3 separate regions of the Homo sapiens genome follow, and all the other regions are linked to region 3. The links are contacts of gene promoters, found by promoter capture Hi-C in human tissues and cell types (Jung and others, 2019). All regions are on one chromosome and are shown on one strand. The core of a region is centred on a gene start or on the middle of the fragment in contact, and the rest is flanking DNA. Distances in the headings are between cores, read along the strand shown. Region 1 has its middle 34 kb from the start of LINC02264. Region 2 overlaps NDST3 (N-deacetylase and N-sulfotransferase 3). Region 3 holds the start of NDST3 (N-deacetylase and N-sulfotransferase 3).

Region 1 (3,662 bases), core at 725-3,224, 230 kb before region 3:
CAAAAAAATGAAAATCTTACCAAAAAGTAGCATGGACTTTAATTTACGAAGTATAGATTTCTATGACGAAGAAAAAATATGCTTTAAAAATATTAATACAGACTTTCTCTTCTGACAAAGAGGAGACTAGATTTAACTTCCTACCTGAAATAAATTGGAAAAAAAAAAAAAAAACAATTTTCAAGAAAATGGACATCAGACAAATAAGGACAAGCATCCCTAAAAGAAGGGAGACAAAAGAGGTGAGCCCTAAGATTGTCTAATTTAACTGTTTTAAGAGTTTTCAGTCTGCAGGGTAAGGAATGGAAACCCAGGAATCAAAAAGATAGAGATGGAAATGTGGGGGAGCCAAAGCAGCCAGAGTTCACAGTGCAGAGTACCAGAAAAGGGAGAACAGCACAGAGAGGGAACTCAGAGATCTGCAAAGGGTCCTCCTCACATTTTTTTTTTTTTTTTTTTTTTTGAGACAGAGTCTTGCTCTGTCGCCCAGGCTGGAGTGCAGTGGCGCGATCTCGGCTCACTGCAAGCTCCGCCTCCCGGGTTCATGCCATTCTCCTGCCTCAGACTCCAGAGCAGCTGGGACTACAGGCGCCTGCCACCACGCCCCGCTAAGTTTTTGTATTTTTAGTAGAGACGGGGTTTCACCGTGTTAGCCAGGACCTCCTCACTTCTTTAGTTGAGAACTGCTCTGCACATACATTTTAAAAAAATTGCCCAAGATTGGGAAAATAACTTGTAGAAAAGATAAGGAAAACAAAGACTATTACTTAAAAATTGCACAAAGCCAGGAATGTTTTCTTTTTTCACCAGCCAGAGTAGAAGACTTAATTGTTGAACTTAGGAAGAAGGGTTTTATCTTAGCAATGTGTAAAATTAGATGAAAATGTTGTTCTGGTACTGCCTAACAAAGTTTAAAGCAGAACCTGCAAGAATAAAAGCTTTATTCCAGAAATACAAGCTTGTTTTAACACTTTAAAAACTATCAATTTAATTCACTGTATTAACAGACTAAAAAAGGAAGAACGTATGATCATCTCCATAGATGCAGAAAAAGCATTTGACAAAATCCAATATCCATTTCTTATAAAAACTCTAAACAAAGAATAGAAAGAAACTTTAAATGCTTTCCCCCTAGATATGGGACAAGCCCACATCCATTATTATCACTTTCATTCAGCACTGTACTAAGGTCCTAGACAATGCAACGAGGCCAAAAAATGAAATTAAAGGCATACAGACTGCAAAGGAAAATAAATTTTTTTGCTCTCATACATGATTGTCTATGCAGAAAATTCTATGAAATCTGCAAAAATGCTTCTAGAAGAAGTTAGTTTAGCAAGTTTACAAAATACAAGATAAATATAAATATCTATAATATTTCTTTACACTGAAAGCAAATAATTGGAAAATAAAATTATTAAATTCCGACGAAAGCTGTGCAAGATCTGTAGACTGAAAACTACCGAACTTTGTTGAGGGAAAATTAAAGAAGATCAAAATAAATTAAAAGACATCCTGTGTCTATAAATCAAACAACTCAAATTTGTGAAGATGTTACTTTCCTCCAAATTGAGCTACAGACTTAAAGCAAATCCAGACCACAATCTTTGCAGTTTTTTGTCTTGTTTTGTTTGTTTTTTGTTTTTTTGTAGGAATTAACAAGCTGATTCTAAAATTGACATGGAAATAGAAAGAACCAGTAAATAGCCAAAACGACTTTGGAAAATAACAAAAAGTTTGCAAGATTTGCAGTACCTTTCTTCAAGACTCATTATAAAGCTATGGTAATCAAGACAATGATTTTAAGATAGACAAATAAATTAGTTAAATAGAAAAGAAATTCTAGAAATAAATTCAAACATATCCAAACAATTGATTTTTGGCAAAATCAAAGCCCATTTAATGAAAAAAGGATAGTGTTTTCAACAAATGATGCTGGATGGGTTTGGGCCCAGAAAAAATTAGCATATGTGTAATAAGCAATAGTAAAAAATAAATTGCTCCTAAGAACAGTGGCTGACAGTTAGGAAAGCTGACTGCCGACCTACTTAATAGAACCTTTCTCAGCATACGTTTATTTATTAATTTTTTTCAGATACGACACAGTGCCTGATATCAGTTTTATTAACTGTCTTGTCAGCAGTGGACTCTGCACAATATTAAAAGCAAACTGGTGTCCCAAAGGAAGGAAACAACATGCCACTTCTCAGCAGCATGTCAATCTTCGGGAACGCTAATCTCTGCTATCAACAGGTCTAACATTGATTAGATCTTCAAACTGTATGTAGTTAGTTGTGAGGCGCATGCCTTACAGAGGCAGAGCAAGAAAGGATGGTGTTGAAATTTAGAAAGGTAAGAAAAATGAAATGCAAAATATTGCAGGAACTATTATGATTAAAATTTATACAGCCATATGCAGGCACAATAAGTTTCATACAATATGCCAATCCCTAACACGCTACCAAATACAACCTCCATGAGTTCAGGGGCTTTTGTCTATTATGCTTACTACTGAGATAGAGAGGTAGAAATTATTTTTTTAGGAATTTATAAATAATCACATATTTTGACTTCAATGACATTATGAGTAGATTTACATGAAAATTTTAACAGTAATTTAGAAATACACACACACGAGCCAATCCTCATTATTTGCAGATTTTGTATTTTCAAATTTGTCTACTTGATAAAATTTATCTGTAACCAAAACCAATACTCTTGGCATTTACAAAGGCATTTGCGGAGGGGCAAAATATTTGAGTTGCCTGACAGCTGCAGGTTCCTGAGGTCGAACAAGGTAACACTCTGCCATGTTGTTTCAGTTTTTATACTGTAAACACATGTCTTATTCAGGATCTATTGAGTACCACATTTTTTGCATTTCTGTACTTACTGTTGGTGATTTTGCTGTTTTAAATGGCCTCAAACATGGTGTGGAAGTGCTATCTTATGTTTCTAAACACAAGAAGACTGTGATGGGCCTTACAGAGAAAATATTTGTTAGTTAAGCTTCATTCAAGCATGAATTATAGGGCTATTGACCGTGAGTTAAATGCTAATGAATCAACAAACAGTATATCCAGAAAAAAAAAAAGAGGAAATTTGCTGATTTGTACATAAGACCGTTCCAGAAACTGCTGAAGTAACATTTATAGCATATAATGAAGCTATGGAACAGTTGGAAAAAAATAGCTAAATTTGTGAATTCATGAGATGACAACTGATTAGAAAAAAAAGCATAGTGGGCAGCATTATTGTAAGGTTCAAAGTCAAAGAAAATTACTGTAATGTTACCCAGGGTCAGGAAAACGTTAAATTCTTCTCAGCTAGTGCTGTCTGCCTCACACATTTCAAAAGGTGGTATGGTGTGAAAAATGCTAAACTTGCAGGCAAGCAGGTTGTTCAGTTCAGGAGGCAGCAAAAGAATGTTGAAAATATCTGCTAAGTGTTATACAGGAAAAGGGTCATGGGGAAGAGCAGGATTTTAATGCGATTGTGACTGGCTTATTTTACATGGACTTGGCCAAAGGAACCTATATAACACAAATGACTTCCAAAGCCCCAGGCTCTAAATCATTCAAAGACTGTTCAATCAATTATTTGTAAGAAATATATATATATATATATATCTTATATATATATAAAATATAAATATATATATA
Region 2 (3,593 bases), core at 358-2,857, 210 kb after region 3:
TTTAGGAACTGACTCTTCTCTCATTTGTGTAATTTTCAGAAACAATGTCATACAGCAAGAAATAGTCCATAGGTGATTGAATAAGCAGAGAGAGATGTACTATTATCGCTCCTAAACAAACGTCCTTTTTTATTTTTTCATCTTTGTCTTTATCCACTATTTGACCCTGTCATCTCTGCTTCAGAGTCCTCAGCAGTTAAAGCACTGGTTTGATTTTTCTGTTTGTTTGTATGGTTTTTTGCTGGTTTCCTCCGATTTTCTTAGGTAACTGACTCTGTAAGGTCCATGACCAGGGACCAGTAAGGAACTAGGGCTGAAGAAGGCAGTCACTCTCGGAGGTGTGCCCATGCCTGAGACTGAGTGCTGTGTCCTAGGTGCCTCTCTTACCTCACCCTAGTGCTGACTCTGGGCTTCACTTAGCATTTTTGAAGAAGACCTCTATCTTACTGCGTCCATTTAGAATAGTTGGCAATCAGATTTAGGAGAATTATATTTGTTCCTACCACATGTGTAGAGCAACTGGAAGATACTGAGTTGGATTGGGTCATGGACCTGACTCACACCGTAAGTTGGTTTTTTTTTAATTACATGGACTGAGCCTTAAAAAAAAACTGAAAAAGACTATCATGGAATTTTTCCATTGTGTTTTTCAGTATAAAACTCAGTTCCACAGATCGAGTAGTTTTCCCTTTTTTTGTACTCTTTAATATCAATTTAGAAAGTGAGAGGCAGGTTTCCTTTACCTTTCAACAAACTTTGCAGGAAAAAAAGATTAGCAGGAAAACATCAAATACTGCTTATATCTCCTACAAATCAAATATAGAGACACGTAAGGGAGGCATTTTGCTGTAGAGGACAAAGGAGTAGGTGGAACTCTGCAGTTTTGAGCTTCCTTCCTAAGAGTCATTTATACTTTGCTGTTATTATTAACCTTCTGACCTCTGTGTTTTCTATACTATGAGTACTGTCAGAGTTTTGTATAGCTTAGTTCAAGTACTAACACAGACACTGGCCTTAGGTATTTAACATTCAACTTGACCTTAAAGAAAGCTGAGTGATTTCAGTTTGCACTTAAAAATTCAAGACCATTTTCTGTTCTGTATCTTTTTAAGCATCTCTTGGAAAAGAAAGCTTTTATTTTCTAAACAGTTTTCTATTTCAAGTTAGGTTATCTGTGGGTCTTTTTTATAGAGTATGTAGCAAAGCATTGTATTTCAGAAAAAAAGAAGTACAGTATTCTATAAAGACAGAGTTGCTTTTTCTTATGGGATGGTCCTTGACCTGCATGCTGTGTATTTGTCCCCTCTGCAGCCAGCTCAGCAGCAAGCTTTTTATTCATCTCCACTGCTGAGAAAAGGCAGTGTAAACTTAAGAGAATATCAAAGCAACATACTATATACAAAGAACCGTAGTCCGTTTGCACCTGAGCTGTATCTAGCTAAAATTACTGATTATATGATTCTCTAACCTGGTTGGGGGCTCAGTGGGTGAAATAGCAAGATAAGATATGTGTAGTCCCTGAAACCACAGTTTCTATTCCAGCAGTGCCACCCAGGCTCTCACCCTGCAGGTGGAGATACTGTGTTTCCATTCCATTTCTTTTTATATTTTCTTGTCAATCATCAATTGGCCTGACATACCTTGTAAAACCTGGCAGTGCACTAGTTGTAGAATATTTGGAAGTTTCATGTCATTGTCTTGGGTCTAAATTGATCATCCTTCACCCTATGCCCTTTGTAGTTGTTTATCTGAAACCTGTCTTCACAATTTAGTTACTCCTATTAGAGTAACTATACTGATAGCTGTTTCTGTAGTGCTTTGGAAATACTGAGGATGACTAGAGGTACAAAATATATATCGTCAGAAATGCCATTTATACCAGTTTGTATACTTTGTACACTTTGGTATTGCTTCTTATTTTTTCTTCTTATTTTCCTGCTGGTGATAATGACGACTATCTCATTGGTGCTTAAAATTTTTTTTTTCTCATTGGAAGTCCTCTAAGGATATAGTAAACTGTAAACCAATATGAATTCTCAACTAACTACATAAATCTAGTGCTTTGCATGTAGTAGAATAAATGAATGAAGCAAGGTCTATACAAATGTTTTGCTATGCAATCTTGGTGTGAAAGAGTACTCCAATTTAAGATATCTCTAAACTTATTATCTTCCATATAGCAAATTTCAGCATCAAAACTATTTTCAAGAAGAATCACAATAAGCCCCCAATGTCAAGATTGTTGTTTATTCTTTTCCACAAGTGCTAAAGAAAGCGTTCAAGACTTTTAAAGATATACAAAGTCACTGAAGAATCTGTGATGTCTTAAAATGACTTATTACTGTTATCATGGGTGTTAAATGACATATTTAATGTTAAATAATCTGATTTTCTCAGTGATTGTGTGAATGAAATAAGCAAAATAAGCTTTAAAAATATAAATAAGAACTTTCTCATTCAATCAAGTAAATTATAATTTACAACTCTTGTTCCACATACCCTTAATCCCTAAATGGGATTAATATATTAACATTACTTTAGTTTTTGTGTTACATGTTATATAGTGTTTTGAAGCAATCATTTGAAATAAGACAGGAAAAACAATGCTTAGCATGGAATTGTACTAATTTGTATACACTAAAATGAAAAATATGAACTTTTAGTTTTGCCATGAATACATCTGTTCACAATAATACCTAGCCATCAATGCCAATGACAGATGTCTTCATGTTTAGAAATACTAGTTAGCTAAATACCTGAACCTGGCATCTTTATGTCTCAGTCAGTTAACCTATTTGTCAAGATGAATGAAACCAGACTATGTTATATGAATTTTTAGTATTAATTTACTTTGAAAATGTCAATAAATGGGCAATGAGAAGTTGAAAGCCGAGAGTTGAGTATAGTTGTTTGTTTGTTTTGTGGACAGAGGTTAGCTAAGTCACGAAGGACTGAAGCTGCTTCAAAATTCAGAAGGACTTCAATAGCTTTTAATATAACTTCCTTGGCAACGAAATTTATATTGCCCGGGAATTGTTTTCCTACCCACTGTAGATAAATTTTAGTACAAATGTACTACACTAAAACTTTCTTATTAGCAAATTATAGTAGCCACAGTAACTAAAATCTGCTGGTTCTCTGGATGGCATGAAAGAACACCTAGAAATGCTGAGTAGGGAAAAGAAAAAAATAGTCTATTCTAATTTCTTATTATAAATTTTTAAGTGGTTGTAACAGTTCAAAATAAATATACATTTATATGTCCTATATATCTCTCTCTCTTCATAAAAACACAATGTGATACGTACAATTAGCTCCATTTTTTCAGATTAAAAAAAACTGGGGCACAGGAAAGTTAAGCCAAAGGTCACTCAGCAAGTAAGTTGAGGAGGCAGGATTGAAACTCAATCAGTTATCTCTGGAACCTACATTGCCAACCTGTTAAGCTCTTCATATTGGCACAGGATGTTAGAACCACAGAAAAACAATACTGTGAATTTTTAATAGTGAATAGCATATTAACAGGAAGTGCTTCCTTAAAAAGAACTAGAGCCTTAAAATGAGCTATGGAAGTTGTTTCAGATTTTATTATG
Region 3 (3,208 bases), core at 565-3,064:
CAGACTTCAAGCTCTAAGCTCACATCTTCATTATGCAAAGTCCAGTAGAAGAGAGTCCACTTTCTTAAGAGAGGAAGGAAAAAAAAAAGTCCCAGAATGGTGGTTTTTTTCTGTTTTTCTCTCTGATTGGCCAGACCTGGGTTACATACCTACCCATGCTACCAGGACAGAAAGCCATCACTGGCCAGACCTGAGCTGTGGGTCTACCAGTGAGTCAGCAGCGGCTGACATCACCTAAAGCAAATGGGCTGCGGGGTGAGATCAAGTGGTTGGATCTTCCAAAATGAACAGGAGTACTGTTTCAACAAGAGTGAGTGCTGGGAAGCAAAACCACAAATGGCCAATACAAAGTATCATTAGTAGACCCCACTTAATACAATTCACATGTTAGTGGAACCAAATGAAATTTTTAAAAATATATATCATTCGATTCACACTTCTAATCAAACTATAGTTCTGGAGAGGGTAACCTCACACCTTGAATCCAAAATATCTCTTCAGTTGCTGGCCTTCCACTTGTCTTCAGGAGCTGAAACACATGGCATTTGAAAAAAACTGGCGAACAGAGGAAACTCTTGCAGCCTCGCAGCCGCCCTGGTCCAGTGCCAACGGCAGGAGCACCACAGGAAGGGACCGCGCGGGTGCGCCCCACCCTTCCAGCGTCGCCTCGGGGACTCGCACCCCTTTCCCTGGCCGCACAAGACGTTTCATCCTTGGCGGCCGCCGCCAACCCGCCGGGAGGGGCGGTCGGAACTGGCAGGCCGGGGCGGAACCCCCGGGGTCTCCTTGTCGAGGCCCGGGCAGCCAGATCCTCAGGGCCGGTCCGGGCGGGAGCCCGGTCGATGGAGGCGGCTCCCGTCCTCAGCTCCCGCTCCCTCCCCTTCCCCGGGGCGGGCGCGCGCGGGCCGGGAGCTGGGAGGCGGCGGCTCCCGCCCGGGAGGCGGTGGCGAGGGCGGCGGAGGCGCGGCCGGGCGGGTCCCAGGGCCGTGGTTCTCCAGCGCAGGAGTCCCCGGCGCACCCGCTGCGCTCGCCCCGCAGCCGCAGCCTGAGCGGCCGAAGTCGCCACCAGCTGTGTCCGCGCAGATCCCGGGCGCGGAGGGGAGAGGTCGCCCGCTTGTCGCCCCCGCCGGACCCCGGGCACCGCGTAGCACCCAAGCGCCACCCGGACGAGGGGCCCTGGGGAGCGGCTGAGGCCGAAGACCCGAGGGAAGGAGGAGCCCGCGGACGGCTGCAGCCCCAGGTAATCTCCATGGAGGACGGGGCCGGTCTCCTCGCCCAGAAACCCGATCCGGGCGCCTTGGAATGCGGACTCCAGAGGCGGCATCTCGACCAGACAAGTTTCTCGCGGCTTGGAATGAGGGAGTCCTGAAACCGACACTCGTTTTATTTAACCAGCTTTTTTCTCCTGTTTTAAATAAGTTTATTTAGACAATGGAAAGAAAAAAACAAACAGCCTCTTGAGTGACTGTGGGTTTGTAAATATAATCCTAAAAGTTTTTCATGGTGTGGTTATTTGCTTGCTCATATTTATTAACCTGTTAACTCTTCCGCTAGTCAGAAAATTGACATGTAAAATATTCTTTGAGGAACGTTACAAGTTTGCTGTTGTATTCGGGCATCCTGTTATTCATCAGCTTAGTTAGCATCTGTCTTCCCCCGAAGTGGTACCAAAGCCGGTCCCTTGGCGACGGGTCTTGCATGTGACACTCTTGCCCTCTAGTGCCTCACCAGCTTGGTAGCAGTTTGATGGCTAATATTAATAAGATGTTACATAACATGAGAGTACTGGGCCAGGACTGGTGTTGCTACCACTTGTAAAGTCAAAAAGCCTGAGCCGATGGTAACGAGTGGTACTGTTTCCGTTTCTTTTCCATCTATTGCAACTTTCTCAAGCATTTTCAGCTCTGAACTTTAATTCCAGGTAAGTGTATTTATTTATTTATACTGTGCATTAATGCCTCACTCATAAATGTAGGGGCTTTTAAGAGATAACAACTTTGCTTTCAAATAATCTAAAAATTTCAAGATTGAACAAGTGCTTCATTTTATTCTTGAAGAAGAAATATAGAGTATTTTGATTAAATTAAGTGAAACAAAGGACCGTCTCATTCAGGGATGATTTTAAAGCTTCCCTTTCATAAGATTATGGTACTAAAGAAATGACCTCTTGTAATTGTTTAAGATATTCACCAACTTATAATGATTCTGAAGTAGATCTGTTTAACAGAACACATGTCTGTTGCCTTGACAGAATTTTGTAAGGAATATCAGAGACTTTAAACTACCTGCCTATCTACACAGTAATGATCCTCAAAAGGCTTTCTATTTGATGCAGTTTATAGACATTATTTAAAACTATACAATTAATAAAATTAAATGGAAATGGAAAGAATCAATCTAGGTATCAAATACAGAAACTTTAAATTTAAAGAAAACAGATATATCTTCTATTTAATATATCCATTTTGTGGGGGCAGGTAAAAGCAAAGTTACATCTTTAAGGGGTTTACTCAGATCCTTTTTCAAATAGTTTTTCTAATAGCTGGATACTGTTTAAGCATCAGAGTTATTTAATGTCGAAAATGTATTAGTATCTATATTCTTTATAAACATATTGAAATATAGCAACATGTAATCTGGAAGAGTTTAGAAGAAAACCCTTCTAGACAATGCAAACAGCTACATTCTTAATACATTTGTATTAAATTAAAATACAAATCAAATATTGAGATGTGTGCAACTGATCTGGGACACACACTTTTTTTTTGTTTTTTTTTTTTGCCCTTAGAAAATTTCATGTTATCAACTACTGAGCAATGCTGTTCACCACCAGAGAGCAGGATGATATGGCAGAGAAACTCTAGAATATCCGATATTCAGCTGAAGGGAATTTTTTTCCCTTTTTCTTCATCCATACCTTCCTATCAATATTATATTTAAGATGGAGATTTCAAATATAAGTTTGAAGGAGGCTCCTTTTTAAAATAGTACTGAACATATAAAGAGGCTTGCCTAAGATAAGCTCTTTTTTTTCTTTCTCTGGTTAACACAGTATCTACCATTTCTAATTTTGTTATCATTTTTCTTTATCATCTTGATGGTAAAACAGAAGATTTGTTTCTTTGTGTAAATAATGTTAATTTTGAGCTTGTCACATGAGTTAATTTTCTTCATAGTCTTTAAAATGAAGAATTCTTACATTACTAAA

The links. Contacts are between HindIII fragments. The study calls those that stand out against the background at their distance.
Region 1: a contact is called between a fragment that was not itself captured here and the fragment with the promoter of NDST3 in region 3, in 2 of the 25 tissues and cell types used here (heart left ventricle and mesenchymal stem cells).
Region 2: a fragment that was not itself captured here is called in contact with the fragment with the promoter of NDST3 in region 3 in 4 of the 25 tissues and cell types used here (H1 embryonic stem cells, mesenchymal stem cells, mesendoderm cells and 1 more).

What each region holds. Positions count from the first base shown.
Region 1 is chr4:117,798,578-117,802,239 of GRCh38, forward strand. No RefSeq gene overlaps it. Among named protein-coding and RNA genes, the nearest start is that of LINC02264, 34 kb to the right of the region's middle. The HindIII fragment of the contact is 3,283 bases long and covers 334-3,616 here.
Region 2 is chr4:118,242,517-118,246,109 of GRCh38, forward strand. The region is part of intron 12 of NDST3 (N-deacetylase and N-sulfotransferase 3); the gene reads left to right. Among named protein-coding and RNA genes, the nearest start is that of SNHG8, 34 kb to the right of the region's middle. The HindIII fragment of the contact is 5,164 bases long and covers 1-3,593 here.
Region 3 is chr4:118,032,672-118,035,879 of GRCh38, forward strand. NDST3 (N-deacetylase and N-sulfotransferase 3) reads left to right here and starts at 1,815. Exons shown (of 14, transcript NM_004784.3): 1 at 1,815-1,921. The HindIII fragment of the contact is 9,214 bases long and covers 1-3,208 here.